Linked DNA regions of Homo sapiens: region 1 is linked to region 2. Evidence: promoter capture Hi-C in 16 types of primary human blood cells and fetal thymus (Javierre and others, 2016). All regions are on one chromosome and are shown on one strand. The core of a region is centred on a gene start or on the middle of the fragment in contact, and the rest is flanking DNA. Distances in the headings are between cores, read along the strand shown.

What was found. The method cuts DNA at HindIII sites, captures the fragments that hold promoters and counts their contacts. A CHiCAGO score of 5 or more calls a contact.
Region 1: a contact is called between a fragment that was not itself captured here and the fragment with the promoter of KPNA7 in region 2, in 1 of 17 cell types (naive CD4 T cells). The highest score is 5.4, in naive CD4 T cells.

Annotation. Positions count from the first base shown.
Region 1 is chr7:99,057,591-99,064,385 of GRCh38, reverse strand. It overlaps SMURF1 (SMAD specific E3 ubiquitin protein ligase 1), which reads left to right. Exons shown (of 18, transcript NM_181349.3): 2 at 2,549-2,587; 3 at 3,679-3,787. Among named protein-coding and RNA genes, the nearest start is that of SMURF1, 83 kb to the left of the region's middle. The HindIII fragment of the contact is 4,291 bases long and covers 2,725-6,795 here.
Region 2 is chr7:99,203,933-99,210,876 of GRCh38, reverse strand. It overlaps KPNA7 (karyopherin subunit alpha 7), which reads left to right and starts at 2,762. Exons shown (of 11, transcript NM_001145715.3): 1 at 2,762-2,849; 2 at 3,388-3,476. The coding sequence starts at 3,411. The HindIII fragment of the contact is 12,895 bases long and covers 2,087-6,944 here.

The DNA.
Region 1 (6,795 bases), core at 3,621-6,120, 150 kb after region 2:
CCATCACTGGTGAACTCTACCCAACATTAAAGAAGAATTAATACAAATTCTTCCAAAACAAAACAAAAAGACGAGGAGGAGGAGGGAATATTTCCCAGCTCATTTTATGAGGCCAGTATCACTCTGATACCAAAACTAGATAGCCTATGAAGGAAAGGAAAATACAAACCAATATCCCTTATGAATATAGATGTGAAATTCCTCAACAAAATACTAGCAAACTGAATATAGCGACATATTAAAAGGACTGTGTACCGTGACCAAGTTGAGTTTATCTCACAATGCAGGGTTGGTTTAACAACTTAAAATCAATTAATGTCACGCACCGTATCAATAGACAAAGGCCAAACACCAAAACAGCATCTCAACACATGTAGAAAAAGCATTTGACAAAATCTAACACCACTTCGTGATGTCAAGTAATCCGTCCGCCTCGGCCTCCCAAAGTGTGCTGGGTGGCGTGTGCCTGTAATCCTAGCTACTAGGGAGGTTGAGGCAAGAGGATTGCTTGATCCCAGGAGTTCGAGGCTGCAGTGAGCTATGATCATGCCACTGCACTCCAGCCTGGGCAACAGAGCAAGACCCTGTCTCTGAAAAAAAAAAAAAAGTATATTGATAAACCCATCTTAATGTGTTTAAGATTGTTAGTTTAAACTGGGTATGGCCTTTCTTTTTGGGATGATAAAAATGTTCTAAAATTGATTGTAATGATAGTTGTCCCACCCATGAGTATACTAAAAACCACTGTATTGCACACTTTAAATGGATGAATTGTGTGGTATATAAATCGTATCTTGGTTGGGCATGGTGGCCTATCCCTATAATCCCAGCACTTTGTGGGGCGAAGTTGGGAGGATTGCTTGAGGCCAGGAGCTTGGGACCAGCCTGGGCAACATAGTGAGAGCCTGTCTCTTTAAAAAAAGAAGTTAGTTGGGTGTGGTGGTGTGTGCCTGTAGTCCCAGCAACTCGAGAGGCTGAGGCTGGAGGATCCCTAGAGCCCAAGGGTTTGAGGCTACAGTGAGCTATGATTGTGCCACTGTACTCCAGCCTGGGGTGACGGAGTGAGACCCTGTCTCTTTTTATATATATATATATATATATATATATATATATATATATATATATATATATATATATATATATAAATAAATCTTATATATATATATATATCTTGACTATATAAATATATATATCTTGATAAAGCTATAGCTTATCACTTACGACATTATTCACTTAGTTTTATAAAACGAAGTGAAACTTGGCAGAACAATATCTATTATGTGAGCACATTTTTGTAAAATACAAGTGCTTAATAAAACATAATATTCTTAAAATTGAGGACAATTTGTGAAGCAGTACAAAAGACAAAAGCACCTCAGTGTCTCCCTGACACAGTCACTTGCGTTGTGTAGCAAGCAGGTCTGGTGACAAACTCTCTTAACAGTAATTGATACTACCTCATTACTCATTAATAAAATAATAAGAACCTTAATTGCATTCTTTCTATACATCAACACTGTGCTTAGTTCTTTTTTTTGGAGACAGAGTCTCGCTCTGTCACCCAGGCTGGAGTGCAGTGGTGAGATCTTGGCTCACTGCAACCTCTGCCTCCCGGGTTTAAGTGATTCTCCTGCCTCAGCTTCTGGAGTAGCTGGGATTAGAGGCATGCGCTACCACACACAGCTAATTTTTGTATTTTAGTAGAGATGGAGTTTCTCCATGTTGGCCAGGCTGGTCTTGAACTCCTGACCTCAGGTGATCTGCCCACCTCAGCCTCCCAAAGTACTGGGATTACAGGCGTGAGCCACCATGCCCAGCCTGTGCTAAGTTCTTAACGTGCATTTTATCATTTTTTGTTCACACTACCCTGATGATGGCCCCATATTTTTTTTTACCACCTTCCCCTTGCTTACTATTTTCCAACATATCAAAGTTTACATTTACAAAATTGTATTACTTATCAGAATAAAAAATTGCATAGCTTCTTCTGTCATTAGCGGTACCTGTAAGGATAAATACTTCAGGTCTTTATTTGAGTTGGTTTTTATGTGATCATATGCAGTATAAGAGAATATCGGTAGGCTGGGTGCAGTGGCCCTATCTCTACAAAAATAAGAACATTTAGCCAGGCATGGTGGCGTGTGCCTATAATCCTAGCTACTGGGAGGGCTGAGGCAAGAGGATTGCTTGAATCACCCAGGAGTTCGAGGCTGCAATGAGCTATGATCATGCCCCTGCACTCCAGCCTGGGCAAGAGAGCAAGACCTTATCTCTTAAAAAAAAAAAAAGTATATTGATCAACCCATCTGAATGTGTTTAAGATTTTTAGTTTAAAGCATTTTGTATTTGTTATAGCTGATCTTCAGTTTGAGGAGAAAACACTTTTTAGATGGTTGTCCATTTTTTGTTTCATATGATACTAGATTTGAAAGTCAAATCTTCGGCAAAGCTAATTTTTAGAGTCTTTTTGTTCGGGTGTAAATATAGATTAGCTATTATGGAAATCTCGTCTTTAATGCTAACCTGAGTAATTTTTCTTTGTTTTTAGTGTTATGTGCCAAGAACCTTGCAAAGAAAGACTTCTTCAGTAAGTAAACACTTATTTTTTTCCCTCTTATAATGTTATGCATGTATTTCTGAAATTTTAAACTTTAAAAAAAGATTGGGTATATTCTCTTCAAAGTTTTGCCCTTTACTTAATAGAAATCCATGGTTCTCCAAGCTTTATTTCCCGGTTGACTACAACATGGGTAGTTCCTTAGCTGAAATATACAGAACTTATAAATCATACCGCAAAACCTGTCTTTCGTTTCCTATTCTGGTCACACCCAATTTTTTCTGCCTCTCTACCTATTAGAATATTGCTTTCTGCTGGATGATGTATTCTCAGCTCTAATACAAATGAAATACTTTTGTATAAAACAGCTGGATTTGCATACAATTGTTAATCAGATTTTATAAATTAAATCACATTTACAACACCCTATAATTAAAGGAATTGCAAAAATAAGAGACTCCTTTTCTAAAGGAAGGAATCACTCCTTAAGAAAGTCATGCAGTATCTGGTCAGTGCCTGCAGCATTAAATTCTTCACACACTTTCTGATCCTCACAAGACATCTTTCAGTTCTTAAGTGGTATTATTCATGCTTTCAAGATGAAGAAACTTAGGCTCAAAGGCTTTCTCCAGGTAGCCAGGAAGCTCCAGCATGGTGGCTCGTGTCCATCTCTATCTCTGACAACTGTCCACTTTGCCACCTGTCTGATCTAATAAACCTCTCTGATTCATTCTCTAGCATTTAGGGACTTACCGAATTAAGGCCTGGTGAATACTTGCTTCCATAGATAAGATAGGCAAAGATCAGTAAACAAATTTCGGGGCATTATTAATTTTTAGAAAGTCTAAATACAATTACTTTCAGACACTTTTCCCTCCACTTAATTAGCCCCACTTTAATAGAAATTTGAATGTAAGCCTTTTTTTTTTTCAGTCACTTTCTTTTCTACCCTCTAAAAATCTGAGTATGGAGGCATACTAGGCTCTCTTAGAAAGCTCAATAGACATAACTTATTTTGCTGATTGAAATTATCCTGAAATTAGAGAACACGAATTGTGTGTTCTGTGTCACATGGATGGATGTGAGGTCTCATCTAGGTGTGGGTCTCCTCTCTCCTCTAGGGCTCCCTGACCCTTTTGCAAAGATTGTCGTGGATGGGTCTGGGCAGTGCCACTCAACCGACACTGTGAAAAACACATTGGACCCAAAGTGGAACCAGCACTATGATCTGTGAGTTGAATGTTCTGTAAGCCCCATGCGGAGCGGCAGGAAAGCAGGTGTCTACCTTTTACGAGAAACATCCAAGAGAAAAAAAAAAAAAGGATGACTTTTTATTGATAACAAAAGCGGATGGCCAAATGAATGTCTACATTGCCTAATTTTAGAATTCATGTACTTGGAAGTTCTTGCATTTTGTTACTTTCTTTTTTCTTTTTTTTTTTTTTTTTTTGAGACGGAGTCTCACTCTGTCACCCAGGCTGGAGTGCGGTGGCGTGATCTCAGCTCACTGCAACCTCCGCCTCCCGGGTACAAGTGATTCTCCTACCTCAGCCTCCCAAGTAGCTGGGATTATGGACATATGCCACCATGCCCAGCTAATTTTTGTATTTTTTAGTAGAGATGGGGTTTCACCATGTTGGCCAGGCTGGTCTTGAACTCCTGACCTCAAGTGATCTGCCCACCTTAGCCTCCCAAAGTGTTGGGATTACAGGCGTGAGCCACTGCGCCCGACTGCATTTGGCATGTTCATAGATTTTTATGGTTTGGTTTTGTACATGTGATCCTCAAACTTTTCAATCTCCTGGCCATTTTAGCAGAAAAAAAGGCCATAGTTTGTGAACTCCACATGCTACTGTTTTTCAGCAAAACCCTAAACCTAGTTGTAGTTTCTACCTAAAAAATGCATTTTTTTTTTTTTTGAGATGGAGTCTTGCTTTGTCGCCCAGGCTAGAGTGTGCAGTGGCGCGATCTCGGCTCACTGTGACCTCCACCTCCTGGATTCAAGTGATTCTCCTGCCTCAGCCTCCCAAGTAGCTGGAATTACAGGCATCCGCCAGCATGCCCAACTAATTTTTGTATTTTTAGTTGAGACGGGGTTTCACCATCTTGGCCAGGCTGGTCTCGAACTCCTGACCTCATGATCCACCCGCCTCAGCCTCCCAAAGTTCTGGGATTACAGGCGTGAGCCACTGTACCAGGCCTAAAAAATTCATTATTATGACTGTATGTTTCTGTTGACTTTGAAAATTTTTGCTTTTTAGTACATATATATTTTCTGCAAGAGAAAATATAGTTTTATATGATCAAAGCCATCAATTTCTTATAGTCATTCAAAAACTGGATTGTACTTTGAAGACCACTATTTTATTTTATTTTATTTTATTTTATTTTATTTTATTTTATTTTATTTTATTTTATTTTATTTTTTTTTGAGATGGAGTCTTGCTCTGTCGCCCAGGCTGGAGTGCAGTGGCGGGATCTCGGCTCACTGCAAGCTCCGCCTCCCGGGTTCACGCCATTCTCCTGCCTCAGCCTCCCAAGTAGCTAGGACTACAGGCGCCCGCCACTACGCCCGGCTATTTTTTGTAGTTTTAGTAGAGACGGGGTTTCACCGTTTTAGCCGGGATGGTCTCGATCTCCTGACCTCGTGATCCGCCCGCCTCGGCCTCCCAAAGTGCTGGGATTACAGGCGTGAGCCACCGCGCCCGGCCTATTTTATTTTTAAATTAAATTAAATTTTTTTTTCAAACAGAGTCTCGCTCTGTTGCCCAGGCTGGAGCGCAGTGGCGCAATCTTGGCTCACCGCAACCTCCTCCTGCTGGGTTCAAGCGATTCTCGATCTTCAGCCTCCCGAGTAGCTGGGATTACAGGTACCCGCCACCATGCCTGGCTAATTTTTATATTTTTAGTAGAGATGGGTTTCACCATGTTGGCCAGGCTGGTCTTGACCTTCTGACCTCAGGTGATCCACCTTGGCCTCCTGAAGTGCTGGGATTATAGGCGTGAGCCACTGCACCTGGCTGTGAAGACCACTATTTTATATGCACCCATGTTTTCATGTTCCTACTAAGATATTTTCATCAAAGTAATCCTGAAAGATTATTGTCTTTTAGTTAATACAAATTATACTGTATTTGGGTGGGATTTTTAAGAATTATATTCTAAGATTCAGTTTCAGTGACACTGAGGCTGTGTAAGTGGGTTGAGTTCCTCTCTCCGTTGACTTGCAGTGACAGTAAATGGAGGTTTAATGTCTTAGTGTCCTCTTGTGTACTTTGAATAGATCCGTAGGTTTGTAAGTAGTCCCTTGTCGCAAACCAGTATTCTGTATCAAACCTAATTGGTGAGAATTTATGAATCATGTTACTGTCCTATGCGACTATTAAAATATAGTAAATTTGCTGGGTGCAGTGGCTCACACCTGTAATCTAAGCACTTTGGGAGGCCGAGGCAGGAAGATCACCTGAGGTCAGGAGGTTGAGACCAGCCTGGCCAACATGGTGAAACCCCGTCTCTACTAAAAATACAAAAATTAGCCAGGTGTGGTGGCAGGTGCCTGTAATCTCAGCTGCTGGGGAGGCTGAGGCAGGAGAATTCCTTGAACCCAGGAGACAGGTTGCAGTGAGCTAACACTGCGCCATTGCACTCCGGCCTGGGCGACAAGAGCAAAATTCCGTCTCAAAAAAATAAAAAAATAAATAAAAATAAATAAAATATAGTAAGTCTGTTATAAGATTATTATCATCGTGTGGTTATCTACATTTGCCCCTTCCATAAGGAGCAAGGTAGTTCTTCTTCCCAGCTTGTTGAAATTAATGGATACGTATTTATTAAATGCCTGTTACATGTGTAATACAGAGGCAACATTATTTTATAAGGTTTCTTAAAGAGAAAATCTCAATGAGATATCATAATTCAGAAATACAATTAAAAGCTGGGCATAGTAGCTCATGCCTGTAATCCCAGCACTTTGGGAGGCCAAGGCAGGTGGATCACCTGAGGTTAGGAGTTCAAGACCAACCTGGCCACATGGCGAAACCCCATCTCTACTAAAAATACAAAAATTAGCCAGGCATGGTGATGCACGCCTGTAGTCCCAGCTACTCGGGAGGCTGAGGCAGGAGAATCACTTGAACTTGGGAGTTGCAGTGAGCTGAGATCACACAACTGCACTCCAGCCTGGGGGCAACAGAGCAGGATTCTATCTCAAAAAAAAAAAAAAACAAAACAAAAAAAAC
Region 2 (6,944 bases), core at 1,513-4,012:
CAGTGGCTCATGCCTCTAATCCCAATGCTTTGGGAGGCTGAGGGGGAGGATTGCTTTAGCCCAGGGGTTTGAAACCAGCCTGGGCAACATAGTGAGATCCCATCTCTACAAAAAATACAAATTAGCCAGCCTTGGTGACTTGTGCCTGTAGTCCTAGCTGCTCAGGAGGCTGAGGCAGGAGGATCACTTGAGCTCAAGAGGTTGAGGCTGCAGTAAGCCATGATTACACTATTTATTGCACTCCAGCCTGGGCAACGGAGCAAGACTGTCTCAAAAGCAAAACAAAAACACAAAAGCAAACTCCCTCCAATTTAAAAAAAGTTCAAACTTGGCCTGATTTGAATAACCACCTCTAACTGAGGGCCAACTCCCTGTCTCGTATCACACAGTACCCTCCCTTGACAAATATTTGAGTACCTACTTTGTCATGTGTTGTGAAAGAGGTAAGAAATCCCTGCCTAAGACACAGTACTGTTACCATGGGGAGTAGGAGGAGAGGAAGTTGGACAAACAAGAAAATATCAGGCAGTGGTTAAAGCTGAGAAGAAAATAAGACTGGGAAGACAGTTAAAAGGGCTTTCAGAGATGTTTAAGCAGAGACTGAATGAAGAGGAGCCAAGTGTGCAGAGATCCTGGGCAGAGCAGCTACTTCAAAGGCCCGAGTACAATGAACCTGGAACACTTGATAATGAAGCCCAGGGGTCTAGAACACAATGATCAAGGAAAGAGTTGTTGGAGGTGAAGTGGGCTGGGGCCAGTGCAGAAAGTGAATTTTCTTCTAAACTCATTGGGTAGCCAGGAGAGTTTTTTTAAGCAGGAGAGTTAGATCAGATTCTCCTTGATTTTTTCTTTTTTTTGTTTGTTTGTTTTGGAGACAGGGTCTGGCTCTGCTGTCCAGGCTGGAGTGCAGTGGTGCAATCGTGGCTCACTGCAGCCTTGACTTCCTGGGCTCCAGAAATCCTCCCACCTCAGCCTCAAGTAGCTGGGACTACAGGTATGTGCCACCATGCCCAGCTTATTTTTATATTTTTTGTAGAGACGGGGGTCTTGCTTTGTTGCCCAAGCTGGTCTTGAACACCTGGCCTTAAGCAAGTCTCCACCTTAACCTCTCAAGTTGTTGAGATTACAGGCATGAGCCACTGTGCCTGACTAATCAGATTTTTTTCTTTTTTTTTTTTTTTTTTTTTTTTTTTTGAGTTGGAGTCTCGCTCTGTTGCCCAGGCTGGAGTGTAGTGGTGCGATCTTGGCTCACGGCAACCTCCGCCCCCTGGGTTCAAGCGATTCTCCTGTCTCAGCCTCCTGAGTAGCTGGGACTACAGGTGCCTGCCACTACGCCTGGCTAATTTTGTACTTTTAGTAGAGACAGGGTTTCGCCATGTTGGTCTGGCTGGTCTCGAACTCCTGACCTCAGGTGATCCACAATCACATGTACTCTGTGCAAAGAACAGATTGGAATAAGGCAATGGGAGAAGCAGGGAGACCAGCTGGAAGGCAACTGCAGTAGTGTGGGTAAGAGGTGATAGTGGTCTGGACTGGGGTGGAGGCAGTCTACTGAAGGATTCTCAGTGACTTGTGCTTGAGACTGTCCTGACCCCATGTGCTGGTGCATTGGGTGTGGGGTTTTCCTGTTGCAGCCTTGGCGGGTCTCCTCACCACCCTGTACATATGCCTGATTTATAACTCCTCAGACACACCGTGTGAAAGCCTTCTTTTCTTTTTCTTTTTGAGACGGAATCTTACTCTGTTGCCCAGGCTCGAGTACAGTGGCGCAATCTCAGCTCACTGCAACCTCCGCCTCCCGGATTCAAGTGATCCTCCTGCTTCAGCCTCCCAAATAGCTGGAATTATAGGTGTCCGCCACCATGCCTGACTAATTTTTGTATTTCTAGTAGAGATGGGGTTTCCCCATGTTGCCCAGGCTGATCTCGAACTCCTGGCCTCAAGTGATCCATCTGCCTCAGCCTTCCAAAGTGCTGGGATTATAGGTGTGAGCCACTGCACCTGGCATGAAAGGCTTCTATATATGACAACCAGCCCATCTGCCTCATTTGAGGACCCAGTTGAAGCCAAAGCACTTTTAAAAGCTTTCCTTTACTGCTATGCCCAGCATTGGTGGTCTTGGTGCTCCCACAGTGTTCACAGCCTACTGAGCTGGTGTGGTGATGCTTATAGAAGCTGACTTCAGGTTCATGCCTGTAATCCCAGCACTTTGGGAGGCTGAGGTGGGTGGATCACAAGGTCAGGAGTTCAAGACCAGCCTGGCCAACGTGGTGAAAAGCCGACTCTACAAAAACAAACAAAACCAAAAATAAGCCAGGTGTGGCCGGGCACGGTGGCTCACGCCTGTAATCCCAGCACTTTGGGAGGCCGAGGTGGGTGGATCACGAGGTCAGGAGATAGAGACCATCCTGGCTAACACGGTGAAACCCCGTCTCTACTAAAAATACAAAAAAATTTGCTGAGCGTGGTGGCAGGTGCCTGTAGTCCCAGCTACTCGGGAGGCTGAGGTAGGAGAATGGCGTGAACCCGGGAGGCGGAGCTTGCAGTGAGCCAAGATTGCGCCACCGCACTCCAGCCTGGGTGACAGAGTGAGACTCTGTCTCAAAAAATAAATAAATAAAATAAATAAAAAGTGAGTCATGTGTGGTGGCTCATGCCTGTAGTCCCAGCTACTCAAGAGGCTGAGGTGGGTGAATCACTTGAGTCCAGGAGGTCAAGGTTGCAGTGAGCCGTGATTGTGCCAATGCACTCCAGCCCGGGTGACAGAGTGAGACTCTGATGCCAACAAGCAGGTCTTGCAGAAATAGGACATGGAGCTGAGAAGTCCAGACTGTTGTTCTTGCTGCCAGGTTGAGCCCAAGGGTTGGGGACGGGGAGTCTGTGCTGTGTATATGGGTTCTAACTCTCACTCAGCTTCTCTGGTCCCAAAAAATAAAAAATGCTGGCTGGGAGCGGTGGCTCATGCCTGTAATCCCAGCACTTTGGGAGGCCGAGGTGGGCGGATCACAAGGTCAGGAGTTCAAGACCAGCCTGGCCAACGTGGTGAAACCCCGTCTCTACTAAAAAGACAAAAATTAGCCGGGCGTGGTGGCAGGCGCCTATAGTCCCAGCTACCTGGGAGGCTGAGGCAGGAGAACCACTTGAACCCGGGAGGCGGAGGTTGCAGTGAACTGATATCCCCCCACTGCACTCAAGTCTGGGCAACAGAGCGAGACTCTGTCTCAAAAAAAAAAAAAAAAAAAAAAAAAAAAAAAAAAAAAAAAGCTAGCTTCCTGGGTCTGCCCTTTGCTCCACTGTGAGCCCTTTAAGGGTTAGAGCCTTATGATACTGACATAATAACCCACACAATGGGCACTGAAAATTTCTTTGTTGCTGTCCAACCTGCAGGTAACTTACTACTTCCAGTCAATATGCCGACCTTAGATGCTCCAGAAGAGAGGCGGAGAAAATTTAAGTACCGAGGCAAAGATGTGTCTGTGAGTATGAAGCACCCACCTGCTTCTATTGGGGACCAGTGCAATCTGCATAAAAAGCGGGGTGAAGAGACCAGGCGCGGTGGCTCATGCCTGTAATCCCAACACTTTGAGAGGCTGAGACGGGCAGATCACAAGGTCAGGAGGTTAAGACGATCCTGGCCAACATGGTGTAACCCCGTCTCTACTAAAAATACAAAAATGACCTGGGTGTGGTGGCTTGTACTTGTAATCCCAGCTACTTGGGAGGCTGAGGCAGGAGAATTGCTTGAACCTGGGAGGCAGAGGTTGCAGTGAGCTGAGATCAGGCCACTGCACTCCAGCCTGGGCGACAAGAGAGAAACTCCATCTCAAAAAAAAAATAGCGGGGGGCAGGGAGGTGGTGGAGAGATGGGTTGAAAAGGCAAATATAGCAAAAGATTCTTTAGATAGATGACTAGGTGTTTCCCTGAATTATCCTTCCAACTTTTCTGTATGTTTGCTATTTTCATCATAAAATATTAAAGGTGGAGAAGACAAAAGCATGTGGACTTAGGAGCCAGACAACTGTGGAATCAAATCAAAGTTTCCGTGGAATCTTGCAATTATTTAATTTCAGAACCCCAGTTTCTTCATCCATAAAACAGGGCTGCTTAGCTGGGCATGGTAGCTCATGCCTGTGTTCCCAGTACTTTGGGGGAGGCCAAGGTGGGAGGATCGCTTGAAGATAGGAGTTCTAGACCAGCCTGGGTAACATACCAAGACCTCCAACTCTACAAAAACAAAAAATCGGCCAGGTGTGGTGGTGTGTGCCTGTAGTCTCAGATACTCTGGTGGCTGAGGCAGGAGGATTGCTTGAGCCCAGGAGTTCAAGGCTGCAGTGAACTGTGATTGTGCCACTGCACTCCAATCTGGGTGACAGAGCCAGACCCTGTCTCTAAAACAAAACCAAATAAAAAACCAGGCTGGGCTGGGCATGATGGCTCACACCTGTAATTCCAGCACTTTGGGAGGCCAAAGTGATCACTTGAGGTCAGGAGTTCGAGACCAGCCTGGCCAACATGGTGAAACCCTGTCTGTACTAAGAATACAAAAAATTAGATGTGCATGGTGGCGGGGGCCTGTAATCCCAGCTACTTGGGAGGCTGAAGCAGGAGAACTGCTTGAACCTGGGAGGTGGAGGTTGCAGTGAGTCGAGATTGTGCCACTGCACTCCATCCAGGCGACAGTGTGAGACTTCGTCTGAAAAAAATAAAAAACCAGGCTGCTATTTATCTCCGAGGAGCTGGATTGCTTCCTCAAGGGCCAGTATACAGGTGTTTACAGCTGCTCACGTCAATGAGGCTTACCAAGGAGCTAAAACGTTAGCATATAGGTATGGCCAACAGGCATGCCTTGTAGAAATAGGACTTGGAACTGAGAAGTCCAGGCTGTTCTTGCTTCCAGGTTGAGCCCAAGGGCTGGGGACGGGGGGTGTGTGCTGTGTATATGGATTCTAACATTCACTCGGCTTCTTTGGTCACATAGTTTTGTGTTGCAAGCTCTGTCCTCCATCTCTGTATCTTTTTATTTTTGAGATGAAGACTTGCTTCATAGTCCAGGCTGGAGTGCAGCAGTGTGATCTTGGCTCACTGCAACCTCTGCCTCCCAGGTTCAAGCGATTCTCCTGCCTCAGCCTCCCAAGTAGCTGGGATTACAGGTGTGCACAATTACGCCTGGCTAATTTTTTGTATTTTTAGTGGAGACAGGGTTTTGCCATGTTGGCCAGGCTGGTCTCAAACTCCTGGCCTCAAGTGATCTGCCTGTCTTGGCCTCCCAAAGTGCTGGGATTACTGGCATGAGCCACTGCTCCCAGCCCCCCATCTCTGTATCTTGACTGGCATCGTATAAGTTTAGCTCCACCTTGGGAATCCAGAAGCCTGATTAGGAGAACGAGGGAAGCACAGGGTCACAGCAGCCTGGTTAGGCCACCATCAGGAACAAAATCACTTTTTTTTTTTTTTTTTTTTTTTTTGAGATGGAGTCTTGCTCTGTCACCAGGCTGGAGTGCAATGGCGTGATCTTGGCTCACTGCAACCTCTGCCTCCTGGGTTCAAGCAATTCTCCTGCCTCAGCCTACCATGGTGTGTACCACCATGCCCGGCTAATTTTTTTTTTTGCATTTTGGTAGAGATGGGGTTTCAACATGTTGGCCAGGATGGTCTCGATCTTCTGACCTCATGATCCCCCTGCCTCGGCCTCCCAAAGTGCTGGGATTACAGGCATGAGCCACCGTGCCTGGCCCAGGAACCAAATCACTCTTACAGTAACCTATTCCAACAATGAAGCTGTCCGGCTTCTAGGACCACTGAAAATTAAAGGAAATCAGTGAGAACGAAGGAATTGAGTCTTCACAGCAACAGGAAGGGCCTGCCAAAGAGAAGAGAGAAAGGTACAAAAGTTTTTACAGGCAGGAACTGCCTAGCGATGGGGCAACAGTATGATGGGCTCAATGATTCCCAAATGTGTTCCTACCTTGCCATATAATGCCACCATGACCCTTTTAAATTTTTTCCTTTTATTATTATTTGATACACGGTCTTGCTCTGTCATCCAGGCTGGAGTGCAGTGGCACGATCATAGTTCACTGCAGCCTCTGCCTCCCAGGCTCAAGTGATCCTCCCACCTCAGCCTCCCAAGTAGCACCATGCCTGGCTAATTTTTTATTTCTTTGTAGAGACAGGGTCTCACTATGTTGGCCGGGCTGGTCTTGAACTCCTGAGCTCAAGCAATCCTCCTGCCTTGGTGTCCCAAAGTGCTGAGATTGCAGGTGGGAGCCACGGTGCCCGGCTGATGACCCATTTTCAAGCAAGAATTAAGTAGCTTAAAGAACCAAAAGTATCTAATACATGGTGACTTCTTTATAATTGTTCCTGAAATGTCTTCAGCCCAAACTCAGCTATTTAGAAAGGTTAGGTCATTTCCTCAGGATTCTTAATACTATAAAGTTTGAGTCATTAACTGACATAAGATCGGGGAGGGGAGAGAGAGATTGAGAGAGAGAGAGATTTGTAGAGGCAGGGTCTTGCTCTATTGCCCAGGCTGGAGTGCAGTGGTACAATCGTAGCTCACTGCAGCCTAGACCTCCCTGGCTCAAGGGATCCTCCCACCTCAGACTCCCAAGTAGCTGGGACTACAGGAGCATGCTACCATGCCCAGCTAATTTTTTGGTAGAAACAGGGTCTTGCTATGTTGTCCAGGCTGGTCTAGAATTCCTGGCCTCAATGATCCTCCCACCTTGACCTCCCAAAGTGCTGGGATTATAGGCACGAGATACCATGCCCAGCCTTGTTTTAATTTTGATTTCCCTCAGTATGTAGACTTGGGGATGAAGGCTTTAATGGCTTATAGACAGGTTTCATTAATAGTGGAAATGGGCCATGCACAGTTGCTCAGCCTGTATTCTCAGCACTTTGGGAGACTGAGGCAGGTAGATCACTTGAGCCTAGGAAT